3 separate regions of the Homo sapiens genome follow, and all the other regions are linked to region 3. Evidence: promoter capture Hi-C in 16 types of primary human blood cells and fetal thymus (Javierre and others, 2016). All regions are on one chromosome and are shown on one strand. The core of a region is centred on a gene start or on the middle of the fragment in contact, and the rest is flanking DNA. Distances in the headings are between cores, read along the strand shown.

Region 1 (4,201 bases), core at 731-3,230, 350 kb after region 3:
CTGCTCCTCTTCCCCTACCTCCTCAGCCTACTCACTGTGAGAATGATGAGAATGAAGGCCTTTATGGTGACCCTCTTCCACTTAATGAATAGTATATATATTTTACCTTCCTTATGATTTTCTTAATAACATTTTCTTTATTCTAGCTTACTTTGTAAGAATAAAGTATATAATACATATAACATACAGAAGATGTGTTAACTTACTGTTTATGTTATCGGTAGGGCTTCTGGCCAACAGTAGGCTAGTAGTTATGTTTTGGGGGAGTCAAGAATTATATGTGGATTTTTGACTATATGGTGGGTTGGTTCCCCTCACCCTTGCGTTGCTCAAGGGTCAACTGTATTATACACTGGATGGCTTAAAAAACAGACATTATTTTCTCACTGTTCTGGAGGCTGGAAGTCCAAGATCGCGGTGTCAGCATAGTTGAATTCTGGTGAGGGCTTTCTTCCTCACATGGTTTGGGGTCAGGGGAGTGAGAAATCAAAAGAAGCTTTCTGGTGTCTCTTATTATAAGGGCACTAATCCAACATGAGCACCCCACACTCATAACCTCATCTAATCCTAACCTCCTCCCGTAGGCCCCATCTCCAAATACCAGCACATTGGGCATTAAGGCTTCCACATATAAATTTTGGGGGATCACAATTCAGTCCCTAGCAGAGGGGATTGACAGGACCTGTGGAATTTATTGCCAGAATCATCTGGATCCACAAATCTCTCCCTGGTCAGGAAGATAGCAGATGAAACACGATAGGAAAAATATCAAGTCCTGAATTTAGATCCAGAAAACTGTGAAGTACAGGATGGAAGAAAATATTTTGGAATTTAATTAACTGCAACCTCAGCCTAAGGCAGCAAGGACAATGTGACCATCAAAAGAGCTGACTCTTCCCCTCTGGTCACATGCAAGCACTATTTTTTTTTTTTTTTTTTGAGATGGAGTCTTGCTCTGTGGCCCAGGCTGGAGTGCAGTGGCTTGATCTCGGCTCACTGCAACCTCCGCCTCCTGGGTTCAAGCGATTCTCCTGCCTCAGCTGGGATTACAAGCGCGTGACACCATGCCTGGCTAATTTTTGTATTTTTAGTAGAGACGGGGTTTCACCATGTTGGCCAGGCTGGTCTTGAACTCCCGACCTCAGGTGATCCACCCACCTCGGCCTCCCAAAGTGTTGGGATTACAGGGGTGAGCCACCGTGCCCAGCCTCTCATACCACTTTCTAAGGTCACGGCTTAGGTAGCTTGGTTGCCATGTCCAAACAAATCTTGCCATCTGCAACCTTCTTCCCCAGATATTTCCCAACAGCCTCAGTTGTCCTATTGCTTGTGTACTTTATGAAACACTGATATATTAATTTTAACTATTACCTAACTTACTGCAATACATTAGGCCTTTGTATAGATAGAAAGTGTCAAGGGTCAAGAAAAATGCATGAAATAAAAATTAAAGGCTGACCCACTGTGCTCGGCCAGTGATTTATATTATATTCTTTATGCTTTATTATGCTTTCTAAAGTTCTCATAATCTGTATATACATTACTTTTTTTTTTTTTTGAGGTGGAGTTTCCCTCTTGTTGCCCAGGCTGGGATGCAATGGCGCAGTCTCGGCTCACTGCAACATCTGCCTCCCAGGTTCAAGTGCTTCTCCTACATCAGCCTCCCAAGTAGCTGGGATTACAGGTGCCCGCCACCACACCTGGCTATTTCATTTATTTATTTATTTATTGTAGTTTTGGTAGAGATGGGGTTTCACCATGTTGTCCAGGCTGGTCTCAAACTCCTGACCTCAGGTAATCCACCCACCTTGGCCTCCCAAAGTGCTGAGATTACAGGCGTGAGCCACCACGCCCAGCCTATGTTACTTTCATAACCATAAAAGTTCTTTATAATAGCCTGTAAGGCAAAAAATATTTCCCCTAAGTTTTGAAAAGGGCCATACTGCAATGATAGAATCATGATACTGGAAGGAACTGCTTAAAAATCTTTTGAATGGGTCTTCATGCCTCCCCTCCACACTCCACTGTCACTACTCCAGTTCAGATCTTCTGCATTCTTTTTGTGGACTATTGCAACAGCTTCCTAATTGCTCTCCTTACCTCCAGTACTGACTATGCCCTCCCATTCTCCACATTGGTTGCTGCTGGAATGATCTTTCTACAATGAAAATCTGATAATTCACCTCCTATCTGAAAATCTTCATGGCTCCCATGAACTTCATCGCAAAGTTGAAACTCTAGCAGAGCAGGCCCACCACAATCTGGTCCTCAAACACACACCTCTTCCTGCTTCCTTGCCCACCATTCTCCCTGGTACCCTAAGCTCCAGACACACCTAGTCATTTTCTGTCACTCCTCTGCATCTTTGCACACATGTGATATTCTGGCTGGTAAACCCTGCCTTTTTTTTTTTCTTTTTTTTTTTTTTTGAGATGGAGTTTTGCTCTTTGGCCCAGGCTGGAGTGCAGTGGTGTGATCTTGGCTCACTGCAACCTCCACCTTCTGGTTTCAAGCGACTCTCCTGCCTCAGCCTCTGGAGTAGCTGGGATTACAGGTGCCCACCACCATGCCCAGCTGATTTTTGCATTTTTAGTAGAGACAGGGTTTTGCCATGTTGGCCAGGCTGGTCTCGAACTCCTGACCTCGTCATCTGCCCGCCTCGGCCTCCCAAAGTGCTGGGATTACAGGTGTGAACCACCGTGCCCAGCCCCAACCTTGCCTATCTTTTAAGCTATCAGATATCCCTTCCCTAGGAAGCCTTCTCAGATATCTCTCTCTGAAGGCAGCATTAGCCTTTCTTGGTACTCAATCTATTTACGGATTTATTGATTCTTATGTCTGTCTCCCACATAAAGATGCACCTCCTTAAAGACTGTTATGTGTTAACTTTTAAATAAATGCTCACATGTGCAAGGCCCTGTGGTAGGCATTGGCATATCAAAAAATAAATTGTTTTCTTGGCTGGGCGCGCTAGCTCACGCCTGTAATCCCAGCATTTTGGGAGGCCAAGGCAAGTGGACCACTTGAGGTCAGGACTTTGAGGCCAGTCTGGCCAACATGGTGAAACCCCCGTTTCTACTAAAAATAAAAAAATTAGTTGGGCGTGGTGGCACGTGCCTGTAGTCCCAGCTATTCGGGAGGCTGAGGCAGGAGAATTGCTTGAACCTGGGAGGCAGAGGTTGCAGTGAGCTGAGATTGCACCACGACACTCCAGTCTGGAAGACAGAGTGAGACTCTGTCTTAAAGTATATATATATATATATAGTTTTCTTTGCCTCTGCCCAGCACCTAGCACATGCTTATTCGATGAATGGCTCAATCAATGAGTTATTAGCACAGAGGTTCAGACTTTGGTGTGCATATGAATCACTTCAAGAGCTTGTTAAAATACGGATGTCAGGGCCTCACCCTAAAGCCCTGGCATCAGAACTTGTTAGGTGAAGTTTGGTCATGTATATGTCTAACAAGCTTCCCAATGATTCTGATGCATTCCAGTTTGTGAACGTTGAGAAACCCACTTATTTTCAGAAAAGGCCATCCCTAAGTCATTCTAGGCAGTTAAAGGCCCACTCTGAGTTTAAGTTTCCTCAAAGGAAGGAAAGCACAATTTTTTTTTTTTTTTTTGAGACAGAGTCTCGCTATATCACCAGGCTGGTGTGTGGTGGCGCAATCTTGGCTCACTGCAACCTCCGCCTCCCAGGTTCAAGCAATTCTCCCGCCTCAGCCTCCTGAGTAGCTGGGATTACAGGCACATGCCACCACACCCAGCTAATTTTTGTATATTTAGTAGAGATGGGGTTTCACCATGTTGGTCAGGATGGTCTCGATCTCCTGACCTCATGATCCGCCCGCCCTGGCCTCCCAAAGTTCGGGGAATATAGGCATGAGCCACCACACCCGGCCAGGAAAGCACTATTTACTCAATACTTATTAAGTGTCAGGTGCTGTATATTTAGGTGCCTTATATACTTTTCTCATTTAATTCCCACAAAAACTCTCTGAGGGAACTACTTGTCTCCCGATTTCAAAGAAAATTGAGGCTCAGAAAGATTCTGTCACTCGCTCAGGAGAAATTGCTGTGGTAAGAGTCTAACCAGAAGTGGTTGGCCTCCAGAGCTGTTTCCGTGGCCCCAGGCTGCCTCCCATACCTGTCACAGCCAATGCCTCTCTGCTATGTGCCTTGTGTTTGCTGTCCCCAAAT
Region 2 (3,757 bases), core at 471-2,970, 300 kb after region 3:
GCCTGTAATCCCAGCTACTCAGGAGGCTGAGGCAGAAGAATTGCTTGAACCCGGGAGGCAGAGGTTGCAGTGAGCCGAGATTGTGCCACTGCACTGTAGCCCGGGCGACAAAGTAAGACTCCGTCTCAAAAAAAAAAAAAAAAAAAAAAAAATCTGATTTAGGCCAGGTGCGGTGGCTCACGCCTATAATCCCAACACTTTGGGCGGCTGAGGTGGGAGGATTACCTGTGGTCAGGAGTTAGCAACCAGCCTGGCCAACATAGTGAAACTCCGTCTCTACTAAAAATACAAAAATTAGCCGGGCATGGTGGCGCACATCCGTAATCCCAGCTGCTTAGGAGGCTGAGGCAGGAGAATGGCTTGAACCCAGGAGGCAGAGGTTGCAGTGAGCCGAGATTGCGCCACTGCACTCCAGGCTGGACAACAGAGCAAAACTCCGTCTCAATCCATCAATCTATAAGTAAGTAAGTAAGTAAGTAAATGTATAAAATTCTGAGTTTAAAAATAGCCTGCCTTAGAAAGAAGCATTTCAAAGTCCAACTTTTCAAACGAACAGAAAAAACTACTCCTCACAACTATTTTCTCTCCTGACTACTCCAGATGATTTCCTAGTAGAGACTCATAGCTACATGTTTTATTTTGCTTAGAACACGGAAACACTGAGGTTTTACTTTGACCACACACAAAGGCTGGGGCAAACCACAGCAAAAAAGCATTTCAAAAAATCTATGCAATAAAGGCCCAATTCCCAGCAACCTTTAACTGTAGCTCTTATGTTCACTAAATGTTAATTTGCCTCACAACCTCCTTTTTAGACAGGTTCCTATAACACCCAAAAAAAGCTTACATTATCCTGGCACAGATGAAGTCTCTGGACCTCAGTTTTTATATAACTGCATCAAGAAATTACTAAACTCAAGTAATGTTAATTTGAACTATAAAAGGAAAAATATTTCCACTTTATAAGTACCTATTATGAGAGAAATATGACGAACATAGAGCTAAAATAAATTCAGACCAGGGATGATTCACCTCTACGACCATTCCACATTAAATCCAGGAAATAAGATTTTTAAAGTATCCTCCTTTTTTTGTTTTGTTAGGCAGATGCATTCTCATCTAACGTACCTGTTGCTGTGGCTAGCAGAAAAAGAAACATGTCCAAGAACAAATTGAGACAACTTAGGAACAACTTAGGAACCAAAAAAGTATTCCCAAATATGTATGAAATTCTTGGAGGAAAACCAAAAGATATGTGCTTACTATAAGGCTGCCAAATACGACGTATCTTGAAACAGGCTGGAAGTTTCAACTAAATTAGTCTGCCAACAAAGCAGCTGGCCAAGGAAGCAGGCTCTAATTCAACCTGAAAATCTTGCATGATAGCAATGCTGAGAAGTGACATATCCCTAATAGAGAGAAGTCCCAAGACAGCATCCAGATTTCTTTCCCAGTCACCTTGGCTAGGCCATAGTGAGATCCTTTAAAGTCCATATCTTTGTAAATTTAATTTTAGACTCTTTCCATAGTGGATAGGGGCTCAATATTTAAAGGAGAAAAGGGAGAAAGAAAGGGAGAGGAGAAAGGAGAAGTAATACTGCTAACCTAACTAGATATATATAAAATTGCCCTTGTTTACAAGAAAAGAACCACAAACATAGGTATTAATCACAAGGAGCTTACATTTTCATTGTGGAAAGGGCACCATGAATATGATTCAAATGAAGACATACAAAAAACTCATAAGCAGAGGCACACACTCACTCCACTCCATCCCATTAAGGGATTTGGAAGCAGAAGAAGGTGGATTTTTTTTCACTAACACTTAAGATTTTCCTGGCCAGGCGCAGTGGCTCAAGCCTGTAATCCTAGCACTTTAGGAGGCTGAGGCGGGAGGACAGCTTGAGCCCAGGAGTTAAGACGCCAGCCTGGACAACATGGTGAGAACTCATCTCTTTAAAAAAAAAAAAAAAAAAAAGGCTGGGTGCAGTGACTTACACCTGTAATCCCAGAACTTTGGGAGGCTGAGGCAGGCGGATCACAAGGTCAGGAGATCGAGACCATCCTGGCCAACATGGTAAAACTGCATCTCTACTAAAAATACAAAAATTAGCTGGGCGTGGTGGTGCCTGCCTGTAAGCCCAGCTACTTGGGAGGATGAGGCAAGAGAATTGCTTGAACCAGGGAGTCGGAGGCTGCAGTGAGCCAAAATTGCGCCACTGCACTCCAGCCTGGTGACAGAGCAAGACTCCGTCTCAATAAACAAAAAACAAAAATTTCCTGTCCCTGTCCATTATATAGCTCATAGAGTTACAAAGCCCCATACAAATCAAAGCCCCATGCAAGGTTTTCCCCAAGAAAAATGCAAATACATATATTAGCATTACTTATTTTAAACAGGACTGGTTTGCTGTCCAAATAACCCAGCATTGAGCACTATCTAACATGATTTTGGGATAGATATCTTTCATCTTAACCTGGGACTGCAAGAGATAGAAAGTGGGATATGACAAACCGAAAAGCTGCTCTTGACTGAATACTGGTATCCAAAAGGGAAAACATCAGTGTCAATGGGGCATAGTTTAATGCAGTGTTCAGTAAGCTTCAGTCATTTGCATACTACCTTTATGATTTTTGCCTTTGTGGTATACTACCCCTACCATTACTTACTAATTTAAAAAAACATACAGAGTTGGCCAGGTGCGGTGGTTCACGCCTGTAATCCCAGCACTTTGGGAGGACAAGGCGGGCAGATCACTTGAGGTCAGGGGTTCGAGACCAGCCTGGCCTCGAACTCTGGTGAAACCCTGTCTCCACTAAAAGTACAAAAATTACCCAGGCATGGTGGCTCACGCCTGTAGTCCCAGCCAGTTGGGAGGCTGAAGCACGAGAATCACTTGAACCCAGGAGGCAGAGGTTGTAGTGAGCCAAGATCACGCCACTGCATTCCAGCCTGGGCAACAGAGTGAGACTCGGTCTCAAAAAAACAAAAACAAAAACATCATGAGCCGTTATTATAGCTTTACCTCAGCAATAATATCCACAAAATGACTGACTTGAACAACTAGTTATATTTTTCCAATTCATATAAAAATACATACTATTAAGCCGGGCACGGTGGCTGACACCTTTAATCCCAGCACTTTGGGAGGCCAAGGCGGGCGGATCATGAGGTCAGGAGATTGAGACCATCCTGGCCAACACAGTGAAACCCTGTCTCTACTAAAAATACAAAAAACTTAGCCAAGCGTGGTGGTGGGCACCTGTAGTCCCAGCTACTCGGAAGGCTGAGGCAGGAGAATGGCGTGAACCTGGGAGGCGGAGCTTGCAGTGAGCCGAGATCGCGCCACTGCACTCCAGCCTGGGCAACAGAGCAAGACTCTATCTCAAAAAAAAAAAAAAAATACTATTAAAATAAAAAATATTTTATTTGTAAAAAAATGTAGAAATATTTTAAATGGTATATTTGTATACCATTTATATCCAGGCCCTATATGTGCTGCTCTTTAAAAACACTGACTGAGGCCGGGCGTGGTGGCTCATGCCTGTAATGCCAGCACTTTGGGAGGCTGAAGCGGGTGGATCACCTGAGGTCAGGAGTTCGAGACCAGCCTGGTCAACTTGGTGAAACCCCATCAAAATACAAAAATTAGCCAGGCGTGGTGGTGGGCACCTGTAATCCCAGCTACTCTGGAGGCTGAGGCAGTAATTGCTTGAACCCAGGAGGTGAAGGGTTGCAGTGAGCCGAGATCGCACC
Region 3 (4,192 bases), core at 1,589-4,088:
AAGGGAAACATAAGCAAACTGCTTTGTTAGAACTTTACAGGACAGAGGGATCACATTGAATTAAAGGGAACTGAAGAAAACGCTCTAAGGAAAGTAGTACTGATGCTGACTAGGCTTTTATCTCAAGGAAAAGGGAAAGGGTAGCAGGTAGGGTAGCAATAAGCAAATATATAGAGAAGAAAAAAATGCAGAATATACTAGAAGAATACAAATTTAGTCTTTGGTTGAAACAGGATACAAGCAACGGAATAATGAAAGATAAAGCTGGAATCTTAATTTGGGCCCAAGTTACAAAACACTTTGAATTTCAAACCAAAGAACCTGAACTTAACTTGGCAGGCAACAGAAAGGAATTGAAGAATTGTGTGTTGGGAGGTCACACAATTTCTGTAAAGTGCTGTGGGTGGTTAGATGCTAGAAAACAAAGACTTGAGAAAACGGGTGGGTGATATGAAAATGAGGATAAAACATTTCAATTACTCAAGAAGTCTGGTGGAAAAGGAGAAAACCTCTCTTGACGTTATTATTGGGGAGACTCTTCAACAGATTTGTAGGTAGTAGCTAAAAGTAGAGTCTAGAACGAAAGGGACTGAAGATTCAAGAAAAAGATAAAACCATGGTACAGGATCCAAGAGATGGAAAGGAATGATAATATCATAGTGTCTCTTCTACTTGTGATCTTGAAACAAAGAAACTCTGAGTAGGTCATTTTGCCTTAATCTCGGTAAAAAGAGAATGTCCTGGAAGTTATAATATAATGCGGGGGTGTGCAGGGGGACACACCTAGTAAGTTCTACTGAAAAGAAAAAAAGAATTTAACAGAAATGAGAATGGAAAATAAAAACAGCATAAGCAATGCCAATTCTCAGAGAAGCTGCTGAATGACAGTGTTAAACCAACTTCAACTTTATACTTTATGTTTACTCTCCCTGAAATGACTGCTTCCCTTCCAGATTTTCTTATCCAAACATACCCAGCTTTCAAGATCGCACATGAGCCCTACTTCCTAGAATTCTCAAGATGGAAAAAGATTCATAGGTAATTCAGTGAACATGTCCACCTAATTCAGAAATTAGTTTTGCCCTAGATCCCTGAACATTTTCAGCCATGGAAAGAAAGCACTCACTCTCATGAAGCTGCCAATTCCAGTCCTCCAAAGGGCTCACTATTATAAGGTTCTTTTTAATACTATGCTGAAGCCTGATCACTTAGAGCTCTACCATTATTCCTAATTGTATGTAGCTTCTACAGCTGAAGGGAACAAGCTGTCTCTTTCCAAAACAATCCTTCTGTATTTGAAAAGCATTATCAGGTCTTCTAAAAATTTAACATTCCCAGTTTCTTCATCACTCCTGACATGACATTTTCCAACCCTCTGTTCCAGTCAACCTTCTACAGAGGCACTGTAGTTTGCCTAAAAATGAGGTGCCTAGAACTGAGCATAATACTCCTTAAGTAGTTAGATGAGCCCAGAATAGAGTAGAAACACTAACTTCCTGGATCTAGACACTAAGTTTCTATATTACAACCTAAAAACAGTATTAGTTGTGTTTAAGTGGCCATGTTACACATTGATTCAACAGAGCAAGTGGTCAACTAAAACCCAAAGAAATTGTTTACATAAATAAAATCTTCTTAGCCAGTAGCTACATACAGTAGAACTGAGCTCAAATTGAAAGCTGCTATTAATCAAATGCAACAATGGATATAAAAAGTACCTAGAAATGTACAAACAGTATAAAGAGGAACAGCAGAATGCTGATAATTGTTCAAGTTGCGTTAAGTGTACATGAGGGTTCAATTTATTATCCTACTTTTGTCTGCGTTTGAAATTTTCCACAATAAAATTTAAAAAATATATACATAATATTGTACAAGCCTTCAACAGCTCTATTTCTTGAAAATCTGTTATCTCCTCCCTGCTTCTTTTTCCAGCCTTATTTCCCATCTTAACCTCTCTATTCTCCAACTACATTGGACTCGACTCTTTTTTTCTTTTTCATTCCATAAACTTGCTGTGCCTCCATGGTTTAATATATGATGTTTATGGAATCTTCCCCCATTTACCAAAACCCTACCTTTCTGCAAAGCTGAGTTTAAATGTTACTTCTGTGAAGGCACTCTACCAAAAACTAAGAACATAGAAGTTGGCGACAAATGCTTAACCAAAGTAAATGAAACAACTTTTGGGAGACTGGCTTGCCCAAGGATCACAGAGTTCATAAATGGTAGAGCTGAGATTAGAATACGCGTCTCCTGAATCCAAATCTCATCTTTCCATTATCGTAAAATAGTTCAGTGTTTGTTGCTCACACATCAAATGCAAACATGTTTCTCTTTTGCCCCAGTAGGTGCGTGGAGGAAGAGGAGAAAGAAGTAAGAAAGATAGCAAAAATTGAAGAAATGAGAAGGGGAAGTTGCAGACTGCCTCATTTTCACAATGGGATCTTTCTATCCAAGAAGAAATGATCAGAAAACAACTCTCTGCCTCAGACAAATGGCGACTGACTCATTTATACATTCATTCATTCAACATTCTGAGTGCCTACTATGTTCCAGGACCTGAACACACCGCTAGAGACACAGGGATGAACAAAACACAATCCCTACCCACAAAAAGCTCCTTGCCTAGTGGAACTACTACCTTTTTAACAGCAGTAACTTTAATATCTTGAGATTTCTTGAGAGGAGACCCAGTAACCAATTTTCAAAGCCAGGCTCACAGACCAGCAGCCCGGAGGTCCCAGCCCAGCTCCACCACATCCAGGGCAGTACCTCGCAGCTCTCAGTAGATCGGATCTTGTCTCCCGGCTTAGCGCCGGGGAACTCACCGCGCACTAAGAGCGGAACGTGAACTTCAGTCTCCCCTCGCGTTCCTCCCCTTCCTTGCTGACGTCATCCAGGAGAGCCGCAGACTGGAAACAACGCTACTAACGGCACTTCCTCATCACGTGACGAGTCACGCCCCTCCTTCCGCGTGGTCCCTCCCCCTCAGGCCGCGGTCGCGATTACGCTCTCTACGGCCTGCGACCGCAGGGCCGTTGCGGGCTGGAGACACGGCGCCGACTGGAACCGGAGGAGCTCTAGGCCAAATGGTTGGGCCAGCCAGGATCCCAGGACCCTTCGCCGCTCGAGACCGGAGAGAGGAAACGAAACAGGCGGGAACCCGTGGGGGAGGGAGGGAACTAGCGGAAGGTGTCATGGCGGCCGCGCTCTTGAGTCACGTGCCCAGGGCCCGCCTTGCTACTTCCGGTCACGTGCCCTCAGACTCCTCGCAGCCAGCGATGGAGGCGAGACCCCCTAGTAACAGAGGCGGTGGCTACTGCTGCGGCCACTGGGTTTCGGCCTCTTCCCAGCAGCGGCTCTAAGAAGCGCAGCGGAACTCGACCGGATCCAACCCAGTTAGTTACTTCCTGTCTAGAGTTGTAGCTTCCACCTGGTAAGTTTAGACCGAAGAATGCAGGCGGGCGGGTGGGTGGGCGGGTGAGGAGCTGACAGGCCTGGGGGCCGCTGGACGGCGTGGATTCTACCCCTGTTCCCAGCGTCGCTGTCGCCGTCCTCCCAACGCCCAAGCCTGGCGTCTTGTTTGCCCTTATCCCGAGGCGAGGAAGAGGCGACCCCTAATCTACTTGTCTAAAGGAAACCTGCTCTTAAATTGAGAGCAGGTTTACCCAAAGCCAGGATCAGATTTGGCTTATGAGAATGAAGTGGAGGCCTCTCCCAGACAGAGAAGCCCTTCCCGTCAGGAAATGTGCTGTTGAGTCTGGGATTCTGTAAGAGAAAAGCTGTCACCTTGTTGTCTGCACACCTTTTGCTTCCACCTGTCAATCTTACCTCTCTTAAAAACCTTAACACGTGCCAGTCCACACACTCCTAGTTTTGGTCATTTGATTGTCGTGTAATGATGAAAAATAGACCATGAGTACCTGGATATATGTAATTATTTTGTAAATCCCCCAGTGTTCTCAAAGGCCAAATTAAATAAGGAGGTGACTTTTCTTATTTTTTTTTAAGAGACAGAGTCTTGTTCTGTCGTCCTGGCTGGAATGCAGTGGCGTGATAATAGCTCACTGTAACCTCGAATTCCTGGGCTCAAGCGATTCTCCTGCCTAGACCTCCCAAAGCGCCAGAATTATGCTACAGTGCCTGGCCCCAAATGACTCCTAAACTCCAATTTTAGCATCAGTAAAAT

What was found. The method cuts DNA at HindIII sites, captures the fragments that hold promoters and counts their contacts. A CHiCAGO score of 5 or more calls a contact.
Region 1: a contact is called between a fragment that was not itself captured here and the fragment with the promoter of HPS5 in region 3, in 1 of 17 cell types (total CD4 T cells). The highest score is 5.4, in total CD4 T cells.
Region 2: a contact is called between a fragment that was not itself captured here and the fragment with the promoter of HPS5 in region 3, in 13 of 17 cell types (neutrophils, naive CD4 T cells, total B cells and 10 more). The highest score is 9.6, in neutrophils.

What each region holds. Positions count from the first base shown.
Region 1 is chr11:18,673,628-18,677,828 of GRCh38, forward strand. No RefSeq gene overlaps it. Among named protein-coding and RNA genes, the nearest start is that of TMEM86A, 23 kb to the right of the region's middle. The HindIII fragment of the contact is 2,972 bases long and covers 495-3,466 here.
Region 2 is chr11:18,617,499-18,621,255 of GRCh38, forward strand. All of the region lies in intron 1 of SPTY2D1 (SPT2 chromatin protein domain containing 1), which reads right to left. Among named protein-coding and RNA genes, the nearest start is that of SPTY2D1, 15 kb to the right of the region's middle. The HindIII fragment of the contact is 1,760 bases long and covers 841-2,600 here.
Region 3 is chr11:18,319,302-18,323,493 of GRCh38, forward strand. HPS5 (HPS5 biogenesis of lysosomal organelles complex 2 subunit 2) reads right to left here and starts at 2,839. Exons shown (of 23, transcript NM_181507.2): 1 at 2,645-2,839. It overlaps GTF2H1 (general transcription factor IIH subunit 1), which reads left to right and starts at 3,266. Exons shown (of 15, transcript NM_005316.4): 1 at 3,266-3,439. RefSeq lists enhancers at 2,337-3,286, 2,424-3,623, 2,514-2,813, 2,824-3,243. The HindIII fragment of the contact is 9,902 bases long and covers 1-4,192 here.